2 separate regions of the Homo sapiens genome follow, and region 1 is linked to region 2. Evidence: promoter capture Hi-C in 16 types of primary human blood cells and fetal thymus (Javierre and others, 2016). All regions are on one chromosome and are shown on one strand. The core of a region is centred on a gene start or on the middle of the fragment in contact, and the rest is flanking DNA. Distances in the headings are between cores, read along the strand shown.

What was found. Contacts are between HindIII fragments. The CHiCAGO score rates a contact against its expected background, and 5 or more counts as called.
Region 1: a contact is called between a fragment that was not itself captured here and the fragment with the promoter of MAMLD1 in region 2, in 1 of 17 cell types (M1 macrophages). The highest score is 5.0, in M1 macrophages.

What each region holds. Positions count from the first base shown.
Region 1 is chrX:150,237,755-150,242,881 of GRCh38, forward strand. No RefSeq gene overlaps it. Among named protein-coding and RNA genes, the nearest start is that of MIR2114, 12 kb to the left of the region's middle. RefSeq lists an enhancer at 785-1,286. The HindIII fragment of the contact is 181 bases long and covers 3,165-3,345 here.
Region 2 is chrX:150,361,497-150,366,419 of GRCh38, forward strand. It overlaps MAMLD1 (mastermind like domain containing 1), which reads left to right and starts at 1,821. Exons shown (of 8, transcript NM_005491.5): 1 at 1,821-2,034. The HindIII fragment of the contact is 7,703 bases long and covers 1-4,923 here.

The DNA of each region.
Region 1 (5,127 bases), core at 2,005-4,504, 120 kb before region 2:
TGTGCAGATGCACTCAGCTATGAACACACATCTACACACATGTACATATCTGCATCTGACACACTCATAGATGTACACCCATGAAGATATACCTGATATAGACACACATCCATATGCCCATACACATCCAAATCACATCATACATACACAGACACATAGATGTATCTCATCTGCACATCTACATCCACGCAGATACATCCAGATGTAAACACACATCTGCACATCCATGCACATATACATATACCTACACACACATACACATACATTCACATCTATGCAGACAACACCCAGACACAGACACAAATCCACACAACCATGTATACCTGCATCCCCCAAACACACACACACTCTCATATACATATACATACATACACCTAAACATATATGCACCTTTGCAGATGAACCTAGTTATAGATACAAATTCACACATCCGTTGATGTCCACACTTTCTGCATACAAATACACATATATCTATATACAGAGCTATGTATGTACCTACACACACATGAACATGCACATATATTTTATACACACAAACACACCCCCAGGCACGTATACCCATGTATACACATACATCCATATTCACACATGAACACACACATAAACACACCAACATGCACATAAATATACACACCCACACGAATATACATGCACACATAATATATGCACACGTACATGTGGATACACTCACAGATACACATATACATACATACACATGTGTACATGCAACATACACATATACATACACACAAATACATGGCATGTAGGAGTGTATGTGTACATATCCCAATGTTATATACACATAGTCGCACCTACACACCCAGACGCACATGCATACTGGACACCTATGTACACTCATGGACATGTACACACTCACACTCATTCATCCCAGAGGCCATCTGTCAAAGTCAAGCTCAATGAGCCCTTTCCAGAAATCAGTGCCTGAGGGACAGTCCTAAGGAGCCAGATCTAATTAGCATAATACGAATCTCCCCACCCACCTCAACCCTGGAAACCTTGCTGCCAGCACAGCCAGCCAGTTGGGGAACTCTCCTTGCTCTCTTGAGAAAGCAGTGAGGTCAGTGGCTCCCTCAGCTACACAGCCTACCTGCTGCACCAGTGCTGCCTCCTGCACCAGTGCGGCCTCCTGCAGGAGAACCCATGCCTCTGTTGTGGGGCCCTGCAAGGTTTCCTGGATCAAGGGCAGCAAATATTGTAAATCAGAAGGCAATGCAGGAGAGAACAATGGGGTTGCAGTCATACAGGGCCTGGTGGCCTTGCTAGGGAGCTGGGCCTTTGTGCTCAGGGCCACCAAAATGTTTGAAGAAGGGGAGCGACGTGGTCAGATTTGTGTTTGCAAAGGATTCCTCTGGCTGCCACGTGGACAATGGTGGGAGACATGCAGTTTGGAGGCAGAGGGTCCAGGGAGGAGATTGGCACAGCTATCCAGGGAGGAGCAGAGAGGGCTTAGGCCAGCGTGGGGGAGGGAGGTGGAGCAACCAACAGTGAGCTGGCTGAGAGTCTGGCCAGGACTAAGGCCACAGGTTGGATGGGGGCATGAGGGAGAGAGAAGGAGGGGCAAAACATGACATCCAGATTTCTGGGGTAGGGGACTGGCAGGGCTATAGAGATGGACAGGGACCAGACCAGGCAGGCTCCATGGGCCACAGGAGGGAACTAGGGCTTTATCTGGGGGCCATAAGAAGCTATTGAAAGGCTGGAAGCATAGGAAAAAAAATGTATTGTGCTTATGAGTATCAGGTTACTGGGAGGGGCCAGATGGATGATCTGGAAAGGCGAACAGGACCCTCAGGAACAATTTGCACCAGGTAGAGGGAGGCATGTGGCTATCAAACCAGAGCAGGCAGAGTTAGCCCCTGCCCAGCACCTCCAGGCAGTTCACCAGGACTGCACAGGTGAGGTTGTCCCTGTCAAACTCTGCCTGGAGGCCAGAAGTCCAAAACCAAAATGTCAGTGGGGGGAGTTCCTTCTGAGAGCTGTGAGAGAATCAGTTCCAGGCCTCTCTCCTACCCTCTCGCAGCTTCAAGTGTTTCTTTGCGTGGAGATGGCATTCTCCCTGTGTCTCCACATCATCTTCCCTCTATGTTTGCCTGTCTCTCTGTCTAAATGTCCCCTTTTTATGAAGACATCAGTCATATTAGATTAGGGCCCACCCTAATGGCCCATTTTAACTTGTTCATCTGCAAAGACTATTTTCAAATGAGGTCACATTCACAGGTTCTGGGGGTTAGAATTTTAAGATCTTTTGGGGGAACACAATTCCAATCATAATGTTCATCTAGGCTTAACTATGAGCAGGAGTTCACGGGACCCCTCCTGGGTCAGGGCAGCAGCTGTGGAAGGAAAGCAAACTACTCAGTGCAGGCTGGGCCTGGGCAAGACAGGATCCCAGGTCCTAGAACAATACTCTGCCTGGGGCAGACATTCATTCTAAGACCTGGGATACCAGTGAAGGGCAGGCCTCAGATAAGGAGAGAGAGCTGCCCCAGGAGAGTATGGAAGGGGCACAGAGGCTGTCCAAGGGTGCAGAGGCAGAAAGACTTAGTGTTAGTCACCCTGCCTGGACAAGAAGAGGTGCAGGCAGTGCCTAATTAGTGTACAGAGAGCCTTGGTCAAGCGCTGGGGAGCAGGGGCTCACTGTGCCCCAGGGTGGGGGACACAGCAGGAGCAAGGCCTGAAGCAGTGGCAGCAGCAGCACTGAGAGTGAGGCATGCAGAAGTATTTCTGACTTCCCAGCTCTGAAGCCTGAGAGATCCCTATTTCAGGGATCCAGGTACCTGGTCCCAGGTAATCTCAGTTATCTGACGCTCCCTCTCTGGGCCTTTTTCAGAAGGGACGTAGGGCACTTGTGCTAGGGATGGGCATTTGTAGGTCTGTGAGCTAAGGGATCCAACGGGTGGAAGCTCAAGTGGTACGGAAACTGAGGAGTGGAGCCCAACACGGATGGCATGTGGGAGCATGCATGCTTGTACATGACTGTGTGTGCCCATGTACACGTGTGTGAGCGGGTGTGCCTCTGGGTGCACTTGTCTGTGTGTGCATCATTGTTTACAGGGATTTCTTGTGCCTGTGCACATGGTGGGAGGGAGGCACAGGTGGTCAAACAAGGTTTGCCAGGGAAACTGCTACCTGAGCTGTAGCTAAGCTTGATTTAAACCTATCATAAAAGTATTAGGTGGCCTACTGTGTCACCCCTCAGCCACCATAATCCATCTCCACCTGTCCCAGGCCTCAGCACCCCATCTTCTACAGACACATCTTTTCTGTTGCAGCTAGCAAGGGGCCCGCTGGGTCCCCTGACCGCCTGTGCACGTGCAGTTGCTAAGCTTTCACAGGCCACATTTCAGTCAGGCACAGGCTAGAAGCTTACTTGTTATTTGTTTTATCACTCATAATCCAGAAACAATCTAGCTGCTAAACAGCACATGCTCATTTGGTAACTGAGGTTACCTGGGACCAACTGAGGCCTGGGGTCTAGGCTGGCTAGAAACTGCCAGCAATGGTGGGAACAGCTCTGATAGTGTGGGGCTTGCTTTCTCAGTAAAGAGGAAAACATCTGGGCACATGCCTGTCAGCCCAGGCCTGGATGCAGACAGACAGAGTCAGAAAGAGACAGAGACAGATACACAGGGAGAGAGGGCAAGAAGGAAAGTGAATTGGCATTAGTGAGTTTTTTGGATTTGGATCATGTGCTTTGCCTCTAGGTAAAAGTCCCTTACATGTTAGTGGTTAGGTGATAAATACTACAGGGGCTGAGAGACCACCCTTGGATTGAAGTCCCTTCTCAGCCAGGGGCCTCTCTCTAGTTGTGGGACCTGGCTGCACCTGTCTTCCCCCCATAAATGGGGATGTAAGAGCTGGGCTGTCCAGCTCCCTTGGCTGTTGGGAGGGCCAGATGCAATGCAGCCTGGAGAAGTGCTTTGGGAACTGCTGATCTCTGCCCAGATACAAGAGCATTTTATTGATTTTAAAGGAAATTGAGATTTTGGAAAAATAAGCATGAAGCCCAAAGAAGCAAATATTCACAACAGTAGCAATTAGCATCTATACCTGCAGTCTACACCCTGGCTCACCTGTGCCCAGGAGCGTGGCCCCTTATGCATCTTATATCTTCCAAGTAAATGAATCCTCAGGTACCATTTGCCTCAAACTTACTGTGTAGCCTGGAACCTCCTAAAGCAAGCTGGCTCCATTTTGAATTTCTGCCTTCAAAGTCCTTTAAAACCTCAGCAGTATTTCCCTTCTTCCAATGACAATTTAAAAGTCCCACCTGGGTGCGGTGGCTCACGCCTGTAATACCAGCACTTTGGGAGGCCCAGGTGGGTGGATCACCTGAGGTCGGGAGTTCGAGACCAGCCTGACCAACATGGAGAAACCCCGTCTCTACTAAAAATACAAAATTAGCTGGGCCTGGTGGCGCATGCCTGTAATCCCAGCTACTCGGGAGGCTGAGGCAGGAGAATCGCTTGAACCCGGGAGGTGGAGGTTGCGGTGAGCCAAGATCACACCATTGCACTCCAGCCTGGGCAACAAGAGTGAAACTCGGTCTCAGGAAAAAAAAAAAAAAAAAAAAAGGTCCTTTACATTGCTCAGAAGTCTGGAGGGAGGCAGCCATTCTGAGTGCTTATCCTATTGCCTATGCTGAATTTAGCACAATTATATACAAGATCGCTAACAAGCACGTGGCCTTCCTGCACCATTGCAAAGATCACATTGCTATCTCTATTTGAAAACATCTTATCACCCTTCAAACTGTTTATGTCTGATTGAAATGCTCCATGTGATTCTGCCTCTCTCTGTGTGTATATGCATGTATTTATGTGTGTGTTTATTACACACACAGACAGGCGGGAGAGGAAGAGATAGAGTTAGAGGTAGTTGTTCTGGTAGAAAGAATCATAATCCATCAGCAGGTAGAGCTCTCTTAGGCTGAAGCACTTTGGGAGTGTCTTTCAGGGTTCCACGCTTTTCTTCCACACCTTCCATCCATCCCCTATACTGGCATCAGAAGTGGTGAGGATGAAGCCTCATGCTCATAGGGAACCAGGCTAGGCTCCTGGTGGTGAGATTGGTGGATAAAAAGCCAAAGGTCAGGGTAGGGGAGTG
Region 2 (4,923 bases), core at 571-3,070:
TGGAGGGAAGGAGGGGCCTAGTGGGCGGCGGGCCCACCCCTTTATTCGTGGCCTGCGGCTCCGCTGAGCGTGACCAGATGTGTTGGTGACAGGTTGCTACTCAGAGGTGCGGACAGGAGCTGAGCGCTGCTGCTGTCGGAGCAGACGCGGCGTTCCCGGGTTGTGCTCAGCCCCTGCAGCTGCCATCGGCTGGAGAAGTCCAGGTTAGGAAACGCATCCGGGGAGGGGATCCTAGAGAAGGGGCGCAGCCAAATACCCGGGAGGTGGGATAGGTGGGAGGGGAGTCGCTGGACTCGGCGCCAGGGCAGATGGTGGACAGGGCGCGCTGGCCCGCCCGGCAGTTCCCAAGGAACCTATGTTCCTGCAGAAGCCGCAGGTGTCCGTCTTGGGATAACTGCGGAGGGAGCCAATCCAGCCCAGCTTGGGCGGGAGCATCGCGTGCCCTGGTCCAGTGGAACGGGAGACTGGCCAGCGAGCCTGGACTCTGAGCTAAGCGTACTGGCGGGCGACGCCGACAGCGTCCGCGCTAAGGGTGGGGGACTGGGAAGTGGGGAGTGGGGCACTCGGCCGGGATGGAGAGAATGCAGTTCACTAACTGCCACCTGAGAGCCCTGGTCCCCGCTGCCGCCACAGCGGGTCTGTTTGGCAGTCAGGGCGCGAGCTGGTGAGCGGATGCGTGGGCGGAGGGACTGGCGCTACCCACCCAGCAGCCACCCACTGCAGGTGAGTGCCCCTCCCAGGGCGAGGGGAGGAGAAGGGCCTGGCCGCTAGCCCTAGGGTCAGGCTCTGGTGAAAATGGGAAGGGGGATGGGGGCTGAATAGGCTACTTTGTGATGAGACTCCCGTCCCTGTGACACTTCAGGGTCCTCTGGGGATCTGTCATTCCTCTTGCAAGCTCTCTTGTTCTCTGGTCCCTCTCCTCCTCTCCTTATTTCCTCCTCTCCTCTCCTCTCCTCTCATCTCCTCTCCTCTCCTCTCCCTTCATCGTGTCTCTACCTCTATCTCCGCCGGTGCCTCTCTCGGTATCTGTCTCTCAGTCTCTGCCTTCTCTGTGTCTCGTACGGTCTCCTGTCTTTCTTGGTCTCTCGGTCCTGAGCGCTCTCTCGCCCTGTCACTGATGACCGCTGGCTTTTGGCTCTCCGTGCTCGCTCTTCGTGTGTCCCGGCCACGCACGGCTCACCAGCTCGTTTTCCCCAGACGCGGAAAGTCTACCTTCGGCGTGCGGGTTTCCCAAGCGCGCCGGGCCCCGCCTGCGGCCCTCCGGCGGGCTCTGTCTGCTGGAGGCGCTCCGCTAACCCTGCTGTCGCCTCTTTCCACCAGCGCACCGCCTAGGCAAGCCAGCTGACGCCGGGGGCACAGACCACCCTCCACTGAGTGCGGAGCAGCCAAGGTGAGTGCACCGATGCCCCTTCCGCCCCTCCGATCCCTCCCCAGCTGCCCTGGTTCGAGCCGACTGGAGAAATGAGGCTGCAACAGCGAAGCCAGCCTGCGGCCGCTTTCTCCTCTAAAGACTGGTGGGAGGGCCCGGGAGGCCCCTCGGGCGGCCGCAGCTCTTTGGCTGCCCGCTGCCCCATCCCGGAGTGGAAACCCTGAGTTTCCAGGCTTCGGGCTGGCGGGGTCGCGGGCAGGGCAGCGCGGCTTCCCCTTTAAGGCCGGAGCCGCTCGTCGCCGTGAGTGTGAGGGTGTGTGAGTGTGCGGCGTGCGTGTCTCCTCCTCCCCGAGTGACACAGCAGTGAGAAATGCCTATCAGTAACTTAAACCCCCGAAACTCCACCTTCCGGGCGCGCGGCGCGGAGCCGGGCGGTGGGAATGGAGCGAGCAGATTGAGGCCGCCACTGCAGCGCCGCCAGCATGAACTTGGCCGCGAGCTGAAGCGGCCGGCGGCGGGCGGGCGCGGGGGCACCGGCCGCTAGCCAGGGGGTGATCTGCAACAGGGCTGGGTTCCTTGGCGGCCGCCTGAGTCCAGGCTGCCCGCGCCGGCGGCCGCCCGCCCCTCGGACACTGCCCCCGCCGCCGCCGGAGCTCTGCAGCACGGTAAGGCTGAGGGCGGGTGCAGGAAGTCTGACTGTTCTGGGGGTTCCGGGGTACACTTGTAGCCCCCAGTTATGGTCCCCATCGCTGAGGATCGGGGTCCCAGGGGTGCTTCGAGTCGGTAGACCCTAAAGTTTGCTCTGAGCACACGGCCCACCTGGCGCTGCGGGCGGCCACCCCCTTCTCGAACCAGCCCGGCTGGGCTGGGCGCAGCTCGAAACGCCGGAGACCACGGCCTTTGGCTCGGCGCCCGTCGGGCGTCTGAAATCCGGCGGGGACAGCCACGTACCGGGGAGGAAAGGTAGAAGGGCGCAAGCTCCTCGGGCTACGCTGGGCTACTGGGAGGCTCCCACTCTGTCCCAGCACCCCCGGGTCGCTTGCAGCCTGGGTGTCACCGGCGACGGTGCCTTCACATGCCAGCTGCCTGAGCCCAGGCCAGTAGGCAGTGGGCGCTGGATGAAGGATTTCCCCACCCCAACGCTGTTTGCCGCCTCTGAGCGAGAGTGTGGAGTGTGCGCGCCGAATCCGCTGCCCTGCACTCCCTCCCCTGCCAACTCCTGGGAAGCGCAGCCCGGAGCTGAGCTGGTGTTCAGGGCAGCCCGGACTGGGTTCCTGCGGAGCAGCCCCGGCGCCCCTGCGTCAGAGTCCGCGCTTCAGGTTCCCCAGCATCCGCGCGACGACAGAGCTGGGCGCCCGGCGCCGGCTAGCGCGGGCGGGAAGCCCCCCGGAGCGCCGCCAAATACTTTTCTCGGCCAGTTGGCTTGGCCAGGCTCCGTCCCAATGCAGTGTGTCCGAAGCCTCCTGGAAAGCTGGAGATGTCGTCTGATTCTGATCCGTGATTAAATTCGGACTGAGCAGACACTAATAGGATTAGCCTGCCAGAAAGCTCGGCCCTGAAGCCATCGGAACCTGTGCAAACACGCGCCTCGGGCTGGAGCATTCACTCCCGCCCCGCCGCGCTTCTGCAGCTGGGTGCGGCTGACCTGGGCACCCGGAGTGTGGGTGTGTGTGAGCGGGCGGGAGCACAGCGTGGCTGGGGGACGTGGGGAGAAGGGGCTGCTTTTGCTGGGGTGGCTTGTCGTTGTTGTTTGGCACCACGGTGCCCCCCGGGGGCGCGGTCCCCACGGTGAACGTGCTGCTCACGGGTAGGCAAACCCAGGCCGGCTCCGGGACATTGTCTGCAAGGGCGAGCGAGCCGAGCTTACTAGAGGCGGCTGCGCTGGAACAAAGGCGCAAAGTCTCCCTGAGACCAAGCAATTTTGAAAGAGTTGGCTAGGGAGAGGGCCTGGGTCTCCCGGGGTAGACCCCCGCGGGAATTGCGCCGCCCCCAGCGGCCCCGGCCCGCGCCTGGGGAATTGTGTTCCCTGGTTGCGGTGAGCCGGCGAGCGACATCGCAGCGGCGCGGCCCAGCTCTTGGCAGGCGTGGGTTGCCGCCCGAGTGCCCACCGGCCGGGCGGGGTCGACCGTGCACCCGCCGGGGCTTCCCGGCCGCCACCGCAGCTCTGGGCCCCTGGAGGCCGCGCAGCTTCTTTCCTTCCCTCCCTCCCACCTCTTCTTGTCTTTATAGATCCCCCCTCCCTCCCACCCCCGCCGCCGCCGCCGCCAACAATCCGCTTTATAAAAAGCCCCTTTGTTTCCCAGGAGGCTGGAGAGAGGGAAGGGGAAAAGGGACGCAGAGGCAGAGGGCGGGGGCGGCTGTCTCCAAGTGGTTTCGAGCCGCTCGGGACAGGAGGGCAAGTGTAGGCGATGGGGGAGGGGGCTGTGTTTCGAGGACCCTCTGTGGGAACCCACGAAGGCGCACGGAGCCTCAGCCCCGGCCCTCGCTGCACGCCCGGCCTGCCAGCCCTGGACACCCTAAATCCTGGCGGCCGGGACGGCCGAGTGGACTGCACTGCGAGCTGGCGGGCGCGCGCAGAGGCCCTAGGCTGCAAGCGCTCCGCGGGGTGGGCAGACGCGACTCGCCGATGCGCTCGCCGGGCTCGGGCATAGGGGGCGCCCTTTCCTTGGTTTCGCTTTGCAGCGGGCGCCCCTCGCCGCCGGAGCTCAGGGCAGCTGTCGCGCCCGCCGGTGGCTAAGACGGAGGCGGCAGCTCGGAGGCTTAGGCCACCCGCGTCTGGCTACACGCCTCATTTCTTCCCGCGCCCTCCTGCCACACCCTCCGCCCCACCACACACAAGGGCTCAAACTCTCCGAGCGCCCTTTGTTTGGAGGCGCGGAGGCAGTGGGAGCCGCCACCTCCGGGGTTCGTGTAGCCTAGGCGGGCAGTGAGGATGAGCGTGCTACTCTGGACTGCGCGCTGGCCTGCTGCCTCTGCACCTAACCCAGCGCCTGACACTAAAGCTGCCAGCTTTAGTTAGATTGACCATTTAGCGGGTCCTTGTCCCTTATAACTGCCCCCCTAAAACTTTCGAGAACCAGGGCTTGCACTGAGGAATGTCAAATATAATGTTAGAAGTAACCTTTCGCCATTCTGTTGGCCTGCTCCGCCCCTGTGCCCCAAAGTGGTCGGTGTCTCTCATAGAGTTTGTTCGGGAAGGGAATACTGAAAAGAAAAAAGTGACAAATAAGGAAAGTGGGCGGGGCCCAGGCTCAGGCTGGTGGGTCTCCCAAGCGAAGTCAGATTCCACCCGCTCTCTGGCCGCCTCCGCCCCTCCTACTTCCATTTAATCTGATGTCGACGTTTTATTTGTGCCTTTTTGCATATCTTTCTCCTACTCCCCTCCCCTCCCATCTCTGGAGGTTATTGATAAGTGCTGCTCAAACATTTGTTCTCTGCGTCTTTGGAGTAGAAGATGAAGCGTTAACACCCTCAACGCGCATACACACATCCCAAATGCGCGCATACACACATCCCAACTGCATCTAAAACCACAAGAAAGTAATCAAAGGGTA